Linked DNA regions of Homo sapiens: region 2 is linked to region 1. The links are contacts of gene promoters, found by promoter capture Hi-C in blood cells and fetal thymus (Javierre and others, 2016). All regions are on one chromosome and are shown on one strand. The core of a region is centred on a gene start or on the middle of the fragment in contact, and the rest is flanking DNA. Distances in the headings are between cores, read along the strand shown.

What was found. The method cuts DNA at HindIII sites, captures the fragments that hold promoters and counts their contacts. A CHiCAGO score of 5 or more calls a contact.
Region 2: a fragment that was not itself captured here is called in contact with the fragment with the promoter of BLK-AS1 in region 1 in 2 of 17 cell types (naive B cells and total B cells); the score reaches 6.9 in naive B cells.

What each region holds. Positions count from the first base shown.
Region 1 is chr8:11,556,302-11,562,502 of GRCh38, reverse strand. BLK-AS1 (BLK antisense RNA 1) reads left to right here and starts at 4,238. Exons shown (of 5, transcript XR_948956.3): 1 at 4,238-4,613; 2 at 5,842-6,201. BLK (BLK proto-oncogene, Src family tyrosine kinase) reads right to left here. Exons shown (of 13, transcript NM_001715.3): 9 at 5,666-5,845; 10 at 4,465-4,541; 11 at 1,051-1,201. RefSeq lists an enhancer at 3,779-4,068. The HindIII fragment of the contact is 8,296 bases long and covers 1-6,201 here.
Region 2 is chr8:11,663,957-11,670,157 of GRCh38, reverse strand. No RefSeq gene overlaps it. Among named protein-coding and RNA genes, the nearest start is that of GATA4, 37 kb to the left of the region's middle. The HindIII fragment of the contact is 1,646 bases long and covers 2,906-4,551 here.

The sequences.
Region 1 (6,201 bases), core at 2,989-5,488:
TGTGAAGCACCTCAATGGCTGCAGCCCCGGCCAGCATTTGGAGCAGACCTCAGGGCTTGGCACTTCACAGCCTCCCCTGGCCTCCATTTCTCGGTCTCCCCAGCCAGCCTGAAGTTCCCGAGAGAACAAGCCATATCCTGTCTGCTTGTCATCTGACTCATAGGCTCAGCAGACACTGCTTGCTAGCTTGATAAATATATGTGACCCCTTCAGATTCTCTTGTGACGTAGATTTCCACCTCAGTTATATGCACAGAGTAAAACAGTGCTCCGTGGACACCCTAATACAGGTTGGTTTGCTGATCGCACATGAGAGCTGTGTTTCCCACAGTGTGCTCTGTGAAAGCCTAATTCCATGGAAGGTTAATAGGGACTATATAAAAATAGTATTTGGGCATGGCTTACACCTGTCATCCCAGCGCTTTGGGAGGTCAAGGCAGGCAGATCACCTAAATTCAGGAGTTCGAGACCAGCCTGGCCAACATGGTGAAACCCCATCTCTACTAAACATACAAAAATTAGCCAGGTGTAGTGGCACACGCCTGTAATCCCAACTACTTGGGAGGCTGAGGCAGAAGAATTGCTTGAACCCAGGAGGCGGAGGTTGCAGTGAGCCAAGATTGTGCCACTGCACTCCAGCCTGGGTGACAGAGACTCCATCTCAAAAAAAAAAAAAATAGTATTTGGAGCTCAAATTAGTTTGGGAGGCACTAGGTGAGGCAAACATAAACTGTTTCTTTGCTGCAGGACTTCTCAGTGCCTTTAATATGTTGATGTGCACTGGGAATCTCCAAGACAGGGAGTAGGGTGGACTGCTGTTTCTCCAAACCTACCTTATCCTAAAGCTGTTCCTCCATGGGAGGTCTCAGGGCACTACCATTCTGCTGAACACATTTGGGTAAATGAAGGAAATGCTGATCTAGAGCTGTAGAAACCGTATAGCCCTCAGGTGTCTTCCCTCAGGGCTGTGCTGGGAGAAGTTAAAGGCGGCTTTGAGGAGCTGGGAAAGATAAGGCCCTAGGTTTCCCTTGTGGTTAGGGGCTGTGCTTACCCTCTTGGGCCGTGTATTCACTGTCGATGATTCGAGCCAAGCCAAAATCAGCAATTTTGCAGCACAAGGCCTCAGACACCAGGATGTTGGCCGCCCGCAGGTCGCGGTGGATGGAATTCATGCGCTCAATGTATGCCATCCCTTCAGCAATCTGAGGGAACAGGCACATGGTGAAGGACAGCCTGGGGGCCTCCACGCCAAGACCGAGCCCACACTGTGTCCCCCGCACAGCCCCTGTGGGCTGCTGGGGAAGGAGCTGTTTCTTGGATGGAGTAGAAAGGTGACTGTGTTGCTCCTCAGCCGAATAAACTCCTCTCCTAGAAGCCCAGAACAGCAACGCAGCAACGTGGGCATCAGAGACACAGGGGCTACCTGTGCCCCTCCCCCTCCTCGTTCTCGCTCCACACAGCTGTGTCCAAGGGTCTGCAGAGATGGAAGATAGAAGAACACAGGCAGGAGAAAAGGAGAGGGAGGGAGAAGAGAAGAAATGGTAAGGAAGGAGGGGGAGGGGGAGCAGGAGGCAAGGACAGGCAGCTCTCACTGGCTGGCTGGAAGCACAGCTCCTGGAGCTGGAGGCCCTCGGGAAGTCGCTGACCTCTAGCAAGCTGCTTAACCTCCCCGAGGGGCCACAGTCCTGACATGGAACATGAGGGATGTGGTCTCCAGGGCAGGGGGTTGAGGCAAGCATTAGACGAGGTTGATTTGTGACCAAGAACCTCACCCAGCGCCTGCCCCGTGGGGGCACCCAGGGAGCACTGGCAGATCCAGGTGGACAGAGGCTGTGAAGAAGAAGAGACTTGTCTCTCCTCCCCTGATCACCAGCCTGGGCCAGGGATAGCAGCTGGTGCTACTTGGCACCTTTTAGCTGAGGAAACTAAGGCTTTATTCACCCAATCAATGGACGAAGAAACTGAGGCAGAAAGCAGAGACCCCATTTACCTCTTCAGACATGCGACTTCAAGAAGCCAGCACTAGAATTGATTCCACTTCTCCTTATGCTTGCATTTTGTTGGTTTATCTATGAATCCATCCATCTATCCATGCATCCATCCATCCATGCATCCATCCATCCACCCACCCATCCATCCATCAACACATCCATGCATCCATCCATGTATCCATCCATCCATCCATCTATGCATCCTTCCATGTATCCATCCATCCATGGATCCATCCATCCATCCACCCACCCACCCACCCATCCATCCATCCACCCATTCATCCATCCATGCATGCATCCATCCATCCATCCATCCATCCATCCATCCATGCATCCATCCATCCACCCACCCACCCACCCACCCACCCACCCACGCATCCACCCATCCATGCATCCATCCATCCCCTTGCTACACCATGCAATCAATACTCATTTACTAATATGGGACTGTGGGGAATATAAAACTGAGTACTAAATATATCTGGGCAGCATCTAACAGTACTCGTTCTGATAACTAATATTTATTGAACAGTACCAGAAATATATTTTAAAAAATGTTGAGTAGGGCCCAGATCTGCTTTCAAGAAGAAGCTGCCCAGATCTGCTGAGCAAGAACAGTGCTTCCGGGAACACCTGAGCTAAGGGCTCTCTGGCAGTTTCTTGTCCAGGGAAACCTTCATAGAAATGACATTACGCTTGAGCCATGGATGATGATAAGGATTCTGCCAGGTGGGAAGTGTTCAAGGCTTCCTGGGCAGAGGAGGTAGAGGGGTGGCGAGGCATGGGGCATGGGAACCGGTGGCATCTGGCTGCAAAGTGGGGCCCGAGGGATTGTGATTGCAGGGTTCCTGTGGGGTTGGCCAGATCTGGCCTTGGAAGAAAGGTCTGGCGAGACTTTGCATGGCTTCCTATGGAGTAAGAAAAGAAGAGCCCAGAAGGGCCGGGTGTGTGTCTGCTCATGTGTGTGTAAGTTTGCGTGTTTGTGTGTGTGTTTGTGTGTGTGAGTTTGTGAGTTTGTGTAAATGTGTTTGTGTGAGTTTGTGTTTGAGTCTGAGTCTGTGTATTTGTGTGTCTGTGTGAGTTTGTGTGTGTGAGTCTGTGTGTCTGTGTGTGTGTCTGTCTGTGTGTGAGTTTGCGTGTCTGTGTGAGTCTGTGTATGTGTTTGTGTTTGTCCGTGTGTGTGTGAGTCTGTGTTTTTATGTGTGTGAGAGTGTGTGTGTGTACATGTGTGCTTAGAGAGCCATTGGCATGGTCAGCATGTGGTTAGAGGCTGCCCTTCTGGGAAGTTCTGATTTTCTGGCTCCTCACCCCCGATTCTGTGGCTACATCCAGGTATTAAACTCCGATGGCTTTTCACATCCTTTGCCCCTGGGTCACACGAGATTTCCCAAGGGGGTGTAGTGGGGATTGAATAGGAGACAGCGGAGGGTGAGAGAAGGAAGGGGAAAGGAAGCAGCAGCAGTGGGCAGGCTTATCACTGCCCTGGGGTTTGAAGCCGGTTACCAGCACTCATTTTCCAAAACCAGCCTGCCCAGATGGCTGTCTGCCCACCTCAGCGGAAAAAGGCGTTGTGGCATCAGTTCCTGCAGCGGCGCTACTGGGTAAGGCTGGGCGAGGGGCGAGGTGGGAGGGCTGATGTGGGCGGTGGGTGGGAGCGTTTCCTCTCGGTGGCAGCTGTATGTGTGTGTGTATGTGTACGCACGTGTGTGCCTCACAGGCTGACCACAGACCAAAACTTTTCTGCTGAGAGTTCCAGTTTTAACAGGGCCACCAGATGTGCTTCCTGCCAGCTAGAGCTCTCGGCTAAAACCCTCCTCTCCACTCTGCTCTTCACCCCATGGAGTCCAGAAAGTTCTGCATGTGAACGTGAGGGACACTGAGGACCAGTCCTGGGTAGCCAAGGAGGTCCAGCACTCGCAATTCCCTGGTGGCAGAAGGTGGGGCTGTCCTCCAGGGCTCAGAGAAGTCATGTCCCTGGCATCTGTGTGTAGCTCAGGCCTGCCCATCAGCCTGGGGTCGACGCCAGGGCTGTGCAAAGGCTGAGGGCCCCTGGGATGGGAAGTCCTACAGGAGATGTTTGTGGGCACCATCTAAGGAAGAGATGAGGTCACAACAGAACACACTTGCCTGCCGGGTTCAATGGAACTCTTGCTAACTCTGTGTGTTTCCCATGACATTCATTCGCCCTCTCTTCCTTCGGAACAGAATAGCCTCATTCCAACACAGCAGCCCGGGTCTAAGGCTCCATTCCCTGGGCTCCCTCACAGCTGCGTGGGGCAGGAGGCACAGTGGCCAGGGTTTGCAAGTCCAAGTGCAGTGGGTGACCTTGGGGATATCTGCCTAGAGGAAGGTGGCCTTCAGTACCCCCTGACTTCTCCTGCTGGCTGAGAGGATGGGGTGGTAAGGCACGAGCAGCCATTGTGGGCAGCAGGTGGCACATGCCGCCCTTTCTCTGCACCTGGTACTTCACCAACCTGCGCCGACATGTCAATCAGCCTTGGGAGTGACAATCTGCTCCCTTCATCTGTCTTCAGGAAATCCAGCAGGCATCCTAAGAAAAGAGAAGTTGCAAGTGCCCTTCTGCAAAGTGACCCGCCCCTGGTGGTGCCAGCCTCTCTCTGGTGTGAGTGGCTCCCCATGGGCGCGGGAAGTGGGAGTTTGCACCCTCAGATCTCTCGGTGCATCAGGAAGGATCTACCTACTGCTGCCGAGTGCCTTCCACTTTACAAAATGCCAGTCTCAGCACCCCGGGAGGCAGCCAATATACCAGCAGTTGCCCAGAAGTTAGGTTTCAGCCAGGTGCAGGGACCTGTCTGAAGTCACCCAGCCGGGAGCTGGGAGTGGGACCCCAGTTCTGACTCGAAGTTTCATGCCCCTTCTTGTCTTTCCCCCCGTGTTGGCCTCGCTCCCTTGATCCCTGCTGGCAGACACCCTCTGCCTCTGAGGACCAGGCATCAGCAAGAAAGCACCAGAATGGAGAGAACTGTCCCCCAGGTTTGGTGCAGGGGACAAATGCAGCTCCCCCTGGAATCAGAAAGCTGGGAGGGATGGATGCTTGCCCTAGGGGCAGGCTAGAGGCACCCCCAGCACAGCCTCCGACCGGGGGCCCCTTGGTGACAGTTGTTAGGGAGCTATATCAACATGGGCATGTTAGGATCCTATAGGAGCAGTGTGCGGTCAGGGTCATAGGAGGGTGAGAAAGTGGCATGAGAACTTGGCCACGCCGTGGACCTCAGAGGCCATCAAGCCCAACCTCTCTGGCCATCCTTGTAAAATATTCACACAGTTGTAAATGGTTGCATGACCAGGAGGCAGGAGACCTGGATCTAGTACTGTCCCTGCATGCCTGGCCTGGTGTTCGTCTGACTTTGCAATGCTCTGTCCCTCCCAGCAGGCATCAAAGAGTGCTAGGCACAGAAGATGCACTCCAGAAATGCTGTCTGAACTGCTCCTGGGCTGAGAACATGGCTCTGTCAGAACCACTTCACCCTCCTGTTTCTCACCCTCCCTCTGTCCCTCCCCCTCCCTCCATCCCTCCCTGTCCCCACACCGTGCCATGCCCTAGATCTGCAGGACCCCCTGGCCTGGTGAACCCACCGCAGCGGACCCTCCTCCTCCTGCTAAGCCCGGCCCTCCCGCCTCGCTCTGAGGATGCGGCTCTGCGGGGGGCACCACCTCTGGCCATGTACTCGGTGACAATGTAGATGGGCTCCTTGGTGACCACTGCGTAGAGTCGGACCAGCCGCTCGTGCTGCAGAGCCTTCATCACGTTGGCCTCACCCAGAAAGGCTTCTGGAGACATGGTTCCCTCCTTCAGCGTCTTAATGGCCACCTTCATGTTGTTTTTGTAGTAACCTGAGCCCGGGGGAGTGAAGAAGCCAATCAGAAGACAGAGAGCTTGCTCGGAGGTGATCCCTTAACCAAAATCGGGGTAAGTGCCCAGGTGCCACCCCATTCCAGGTGCCAGAGCTGGAACATGCAGTTCCGGAGGCCATGGTTGTGTGGTGCCTACCTTGCGTTCCAGGTCCCTTCTATATGGGGCCTCAGGCAGTGGAGGAATGTACCCTGCCTGGGGGGCATTTCACCTATTTGCCCCACACCCTGGGCCTGTGTCCTTCTGTCCTGCACGGAACCTGTGTCCTTCCCCCACCCCTCCCCTACATAATGAGTCTCTTCTATCACACAATAACTCCTTGGTGGAAATAAGCACA
Region 2 (6,201 bases), core at 2,479-4,978, 110 kb before region 1:
TAATAATGAAAAAGCTATCTGTCCAAAAATAATTCTAAAATTTGTATAGAACAACAATAACAACAAAAAACCGTGAATAACCAATGCAATCTTAAGCAAAAAGAACAAAGGTAAAGGCATCACACTACTTGTCTTCCAAATACACTACAAAGCTATAGTAACCAAAACAGCATGATACTGGTATAAAAACAGACACATAGACCGATGGAACAGAATAGAAAGCCCAGAAATGAATTCACACATCTGCAGCCAACTGATTTTTGACAAAGAGACCAAACACATGGGGAAAAGGATATTTTCTTCAATAAGTGGTGCTGGAAAAATTGGATAGCTACATGAAGAAGAATGACACTAGACCTCTATCTCTTACCAAATACAAAAATCAACTCAAAATGGATTACAGACTTGAAGATTAGGCTCAAAACTATGAAACTACTAGAATAAGTCGTAGGGAAAATGTTTCATGATGTTGGTCTGGGCAAGGATTTTTTGGATAAGATCTCAAAATCACAGGCAACAAAAGCAAAAAATAGACACATGGAATTACATCAAACTAAGAAGAGTCTGCACAGCAAAGGTAACAATCAACAAAGTGAAGAGACAACCCACAGAATGGGAGAAGATATTTGCAAACTCTATATCTAACAAAGGGTTAATATCCAGACTACGTCAGGAATTCAAATAATTCAATACCAAAAAAAAATTTGATTTAAAAGTGAGCAAAATAACTGAATAGATGGAATAAATATTTCTCAAAAGAAGGCATACAAATAGCAAACAGGTATGTGAAAAAATGCTCAACATCAGTAATCATCAGGGAAATGCAACTCAAAATGACAATGAGATATCACTTCACTCCATTTAGAACGGCTATGGTCAGACAGACAAAAGATAGCAAGTGTTGGCAAGGATGTGGAGAAAGGGAAACCCTTATACACTGTTGATGGAAATGTAAATTTAGTATAGCCACTGAGAAAACAGTACAGAGGTTTCAAAAAAAATTTAAAACTAGAATTACCTATGTAATCCGGTAATCTCACTACTGAGTAGTGGGAAAGAAAAGGAAATCAGTATGTAGAAATGACATCTGCACTCCCATGTATATAGCCACACTCTTCACAATAGTGAAGACATGGATTCAACCCAAGTGTCCATTAACAGATGAATAAAGAAAATGTGGCACATATACACAATGGAAGACTATTCAGCCATAAAAAGAAGGAAATTCTCTCCTTTGATGAAAGGATTTACAACAGAAGATGTAAATCCTTTGATAAAAAGACATCCTCCTCATGTCTTTTGCCCATTGTCTGGGTAATTAGGTTTTACTATTGTTATTATAATTATTATTTTACTATTGAGCTTTGAGGGTTCTTTATATATTCTAGATGTGAATCCTTGGTTTGCAAGTATTTTCTCCCCATCTGTAACTTATCTTTTCAGTTACTTAAAAGGGTCTTTCACAAAGCAGACATTTTCAGTTTGAAGAAGTTCAATTTTTTAATGAATTGTACTTTTATTGTCATGTCTAAGCAGTTTTCATCAAACCTTAGGTTATGAAGATTTTCTCCTATGTTTTCTTCTAAAAGTTTTATACTTATACATTTTACATTCAAATCTATGCTCCACTTTGAGTTATTTTTGTATAAAGTATGAGTTGAGTTCAAAGTTTGTTTGTTTATTTAGTTTCAAGATATCCAGTTGTTCCAGCATCATTTGTTGAAAGGACTATCTATTCTCCATTGAATTTCTTTTGCACCTTTGTCAAAAATCAGTCGGCCATACTTGTGTGGGTCTATTTCTGGGTTCTCTACTCTGTTCTACTGATGTAGTGCCTATTTCTCTATCAATGCTACATAGTCTTGATTACTATAGCTATAAAATCCCACTTTGTCCTTCTTTTCCAAAATTGTTTCAGCTCTTCTAGTTGGGTGGGTTTTTTAATGCTTTCTACATAATTTTTTCACCTTTTTACATAAATTTTAGAATAACCTTGTCTCTATATGAAAATCTTGCTGAGATTTTTCACAGGAATTGCATTAAAACTATATATGAACTTTGAAAGAACTGACATATTTACTATGTTGAATCTTCCAATCCATGAACGTGGTATGTCTCTCCATTTATTTAAATCTTAATTTCTTTCACCAGTGTTTTGTAACATTCAGTATACAAGTCCTATACATGTTTTGTTGGATTTACACTTAAGAATCTAATTATTTGAGCAATTGCAACTAATATTATATGGTTAATTTCATTTTCCACATGTTCATTGCTAGTATATAGAATTATAGTTTGTTTTTGTATGTTGATTTTGTTTTCTGCAGCCTTGCTGAACTCATTTGTTAGTTCCAGGAGGTTTTTTTTTTCTTTTCTGGTATATTTCTTGGAGGTTTTCTATGTAGATGATCACTTTATCTCCGAACAGACATACTTTAATTTCTTCCCTTCTGACCTGTATTCATTGTATTTTTATTTTTGTTACTATCTTTTAAAAAGACAGGGTCTTGCTGTGTTGCCCAGGCTGGAGGTCAGTGGCTATTCACAGGTGCAGTTATGGTGTACTACAGCCTGAGCTCCTGGGCTCAAGTGATCCTGTTGCCTCAGCCTCCCTAGTAGATTGGACTACTACTGGTACATACTACTGCACCCAGCCCTTTTATTATTATTTTCTTTACTTGCCTTATTTTCTGGCTAAAACTTCCATTACTATGCTGAATAGAAGTAGTGAGAGTGGAAATTCTTGTCTTATTCTCAGCCTTTGTGGAAAGGCTTTAGTCTTTTACCATTAATTATGTTAGCTGTTGGTCTTTTGTAAGTGCTCTTTATCAAGTTGAGGAAGTTCCCTTTATTCCTAATTTTCAGAGTTTTTATCATGAATGGGTATCAAATTTCATCGAAAGCTTTTTTCTGTACCAATTGGTATGATCATATGATTTGTTTTCCTTAGCATGTTAAACTGGTGGATTGCATTGATTTTAAATTAGTGAGTCAGTTATGCATCTCTGAAATAAATCTCACTAGTCATGATGTGTAATTCTTGCATGTTGCTGCATTCTATTTGCTGATATTTTGTTAAGGATTTGCATCTATGTCAATGAGGGATATTGGGCTGTAGTGTTTTCTTTGTATGTTAGTCTGGTTTTAGTGTTACTGTAATACTGGCCTTACAAAATGCATTGGAAAATGTTTTTTTTTTCTTGGAAAAAATGTGTTGAATTGGTGTGTTTTCTGAGTTTTAATTACTGTTTCAATTTTAAAAAGAGTTATAGGGCTATTCAAATGGCTGATTTCATATTAAGTAAGTGGTTGTACTTTATACTTTTTGAAGAATTGGTATTTTTAGTAGAGATGAGATTTCATTCACCATGTTGGTCAGGCTGGTCTCGAACTCCTGACCTCAGATCCACCTGCCTCGGCCTCCCAAAGTGCTGGAATTATAGGCATGAGCTACCACGCCCAGTCTTTTCAGCTTTTTGTTTTATTGTTTTTTTTCTGTTATTTTTCTATTTTCTATTTCATTGATATCCGCTCCTGTCTTTATTACTTCCTTCCTTTTATTTGCTTTGGACTTATTTTGCTCTTATTTTTCCAGTTTCTTGAGGCGAGAGCTTAGATAGCTGATTTGAAACTTTTCCTCTTTTTTTTTTTTTTTTTTTTTTTTTTTAATTGAGACAGGGTCTCACTCTGTCACCCAGGCTGGAGTGCAGTGGTGTGTGATCACAGCTTACTGCAGCCTCAACTTCCCTGGCTCAAGTGATCCTCGCACCTCAACCTCCCTTCCTGAGTAGCTGGGACTACAGATGTGTGCCACCATGCCTGGCTAATTCTTTAAAATTTTTGTAGAGACAGAGTCACACTGTTTTGCCCAGGTTGGTCTCAAACTTCTGGTTTCAGGTTATCCTCCTGCCTTGGCCTCCCAAAATGATGGGATTATAGGCACGAGCTGCTCCACCCAGCCTGATATTTTTAGGATAAATGAAGGATAAAACTGGTATAAATTTGGAGTCATTTTAATGAAATTATTATTCTTAATATTGATGTAACTATTCTAAATGAATAAAATATTAGCAAGCTGAATCCAGCAGTATATTAAAAGAAAATATCAATGTTCAATAGGGTTTTCCCTTAGGGAGCCAGGTCATTAATATTAGGAAACAGACAGGCACTGTGGCTTATGCCTGTAATCCCAGCTACTTGGGAGGCTGAGGCAGGAGGACTTCTTGAGCCCAGGAGTTCAAGGCTGCAGTGAGCTATGATTGTACCAGTGCACTCTAGCCTGGGTGATAGAGTAAGACTCTCATCTCTAAAAAAATAAAACAAAATATTAGGAAACAATAAAATTTATTACAGTATTCAGTCAAAGGAAGAAAAACTATACAACTATACCAATAGGAGTGAAAAGGCATTTAACCAAATGTAGCATCCTTTCTTGATTAAAACAAATAAAACTCTCACTAAAAAATTAGAACAGAAGGATATTCCCATAATATAATAAAAATATCTGACTCAAACACAATAAAGAAATGGGACCTTATTAAACTAAAAGCTTCTGTACAGCAAAAGAAATAATCATCAGAGTAAACAGACAACTCACAGAGTGGGAGAAAATATTTGCAAACTATTCATTTGACAAAGGACTAATTTCCAGACTCTACAAGGAATTCAAACAAATCAGCAAGAAAGAAACAAATAATCCCATCAAAAAGTGGGCAAATGACATGAGTAGACATTCTCAAAAGAAGGTATACAAATGGCCAACCAACATATGAAAAAATGCTCAACATCACTAATTATCAGGGAAATGCAAATTAAAACCACAATGAGATACAACCTTACCCCTGCAAGAATGGCCACTATTTAACAAATTAAAAAACAATAGGTGCTGGCTGCATGTGGTGAAAAGGGACCATTATACACTGCTGGTGAAAATGTAAATGAGTACAACCTCTATGGAAAACAGTGTGGAGATTTCTCAAAGAAGTAAAAGTAGATCTATCATTTGATCCAGTAATCTCACTACCAGGTAACTACCCAAAGGAAAAGAAGTAATATCAAAAAGACACCCACATGCATATGTTTATTACAATGCAATTCTCAATTGCAAAGATGTAGAACCAATCTAAGTGCCCACTGACTAATGAGTAGCGAAAGCAAATATATATGTCATGGAATACTACTCACCCATAAAAAAGGAAATGATATCTTTTGCAGCAACTTGACTGGAGCTGGAGGCCATTATTCTAAGTGAAATAACTCAAGGATGGAAAACCAAACACGGTATGTTCTCACTTATAAGTGAGAGCTAAGCTACGGGTATGCAAGGGCAGACAGAGTGGTATAATGGACTTTAGAGACTCAGAAGAAAGAGGGAGGTAGGGAGGGAGGTGAGGGATAAAAAATTACTTATTGGGTACAATGTATACTACTTGGGTGACAGGTGCATAAAGATCTGACTTTGCCACTGTACAATTCATCCATGTAACCAAAAAACCACTTGTACTCAAAAAGCTATTGAAATAAAAAAAGTTTGAAATCTGACTCAAGCCAACCACTAGCATTATTTAATTGTGAAAAACCAGAAGAGATGTTCTCATGCTTGTTAGGAACAAAAGCAAGATGCCCAACATCAGTATTCCGGAAATGCTAGCCAATGCAATAATATAAGAAAAATAAGAGACAGAAGAATTGGAAGGGAAGAAGCAAAATCATTTTTACCTACACACTGCAGAAGTCTAAGCTGTAGTCCCTGCCTCAAACCCACCTTTCTGCCTTTCTGTTTTCTGTCTTGTGCTTGTGGGGTTGAGATTCTATAAGCCACCATTCTGTCTTTCTGGCTGGCTCTGTATCAGGTTCTGCCCACAGACAACAATGAAGGGAGACTACAAGGCTTGTGGAGGTGAAGGAAATACACCTTTCGTTTGCTTCCTAGTCATAAATGCTTTTCTCTAGCCTCTCTATCATGGCAGCAACAGTTCATTCTTGTAGCAGCAGCTGAATCCAGTTTTCAGTTTTGTCTTTTTTTTTTTTTTTTGAGATGGAATCTCACTCTGTAGCCCAGGCTAGAGTGCAGTGGTACGATACTTGCTCACTGTAACCTCCGCCTCCTAGCTTCAACTGATTTTCCTGCCTCAGCCTCCTGAGTAGCTGAGATTACAGGCATGTGCCACCACGCCCAGCTAATTTTTGCATTTTTGGTAA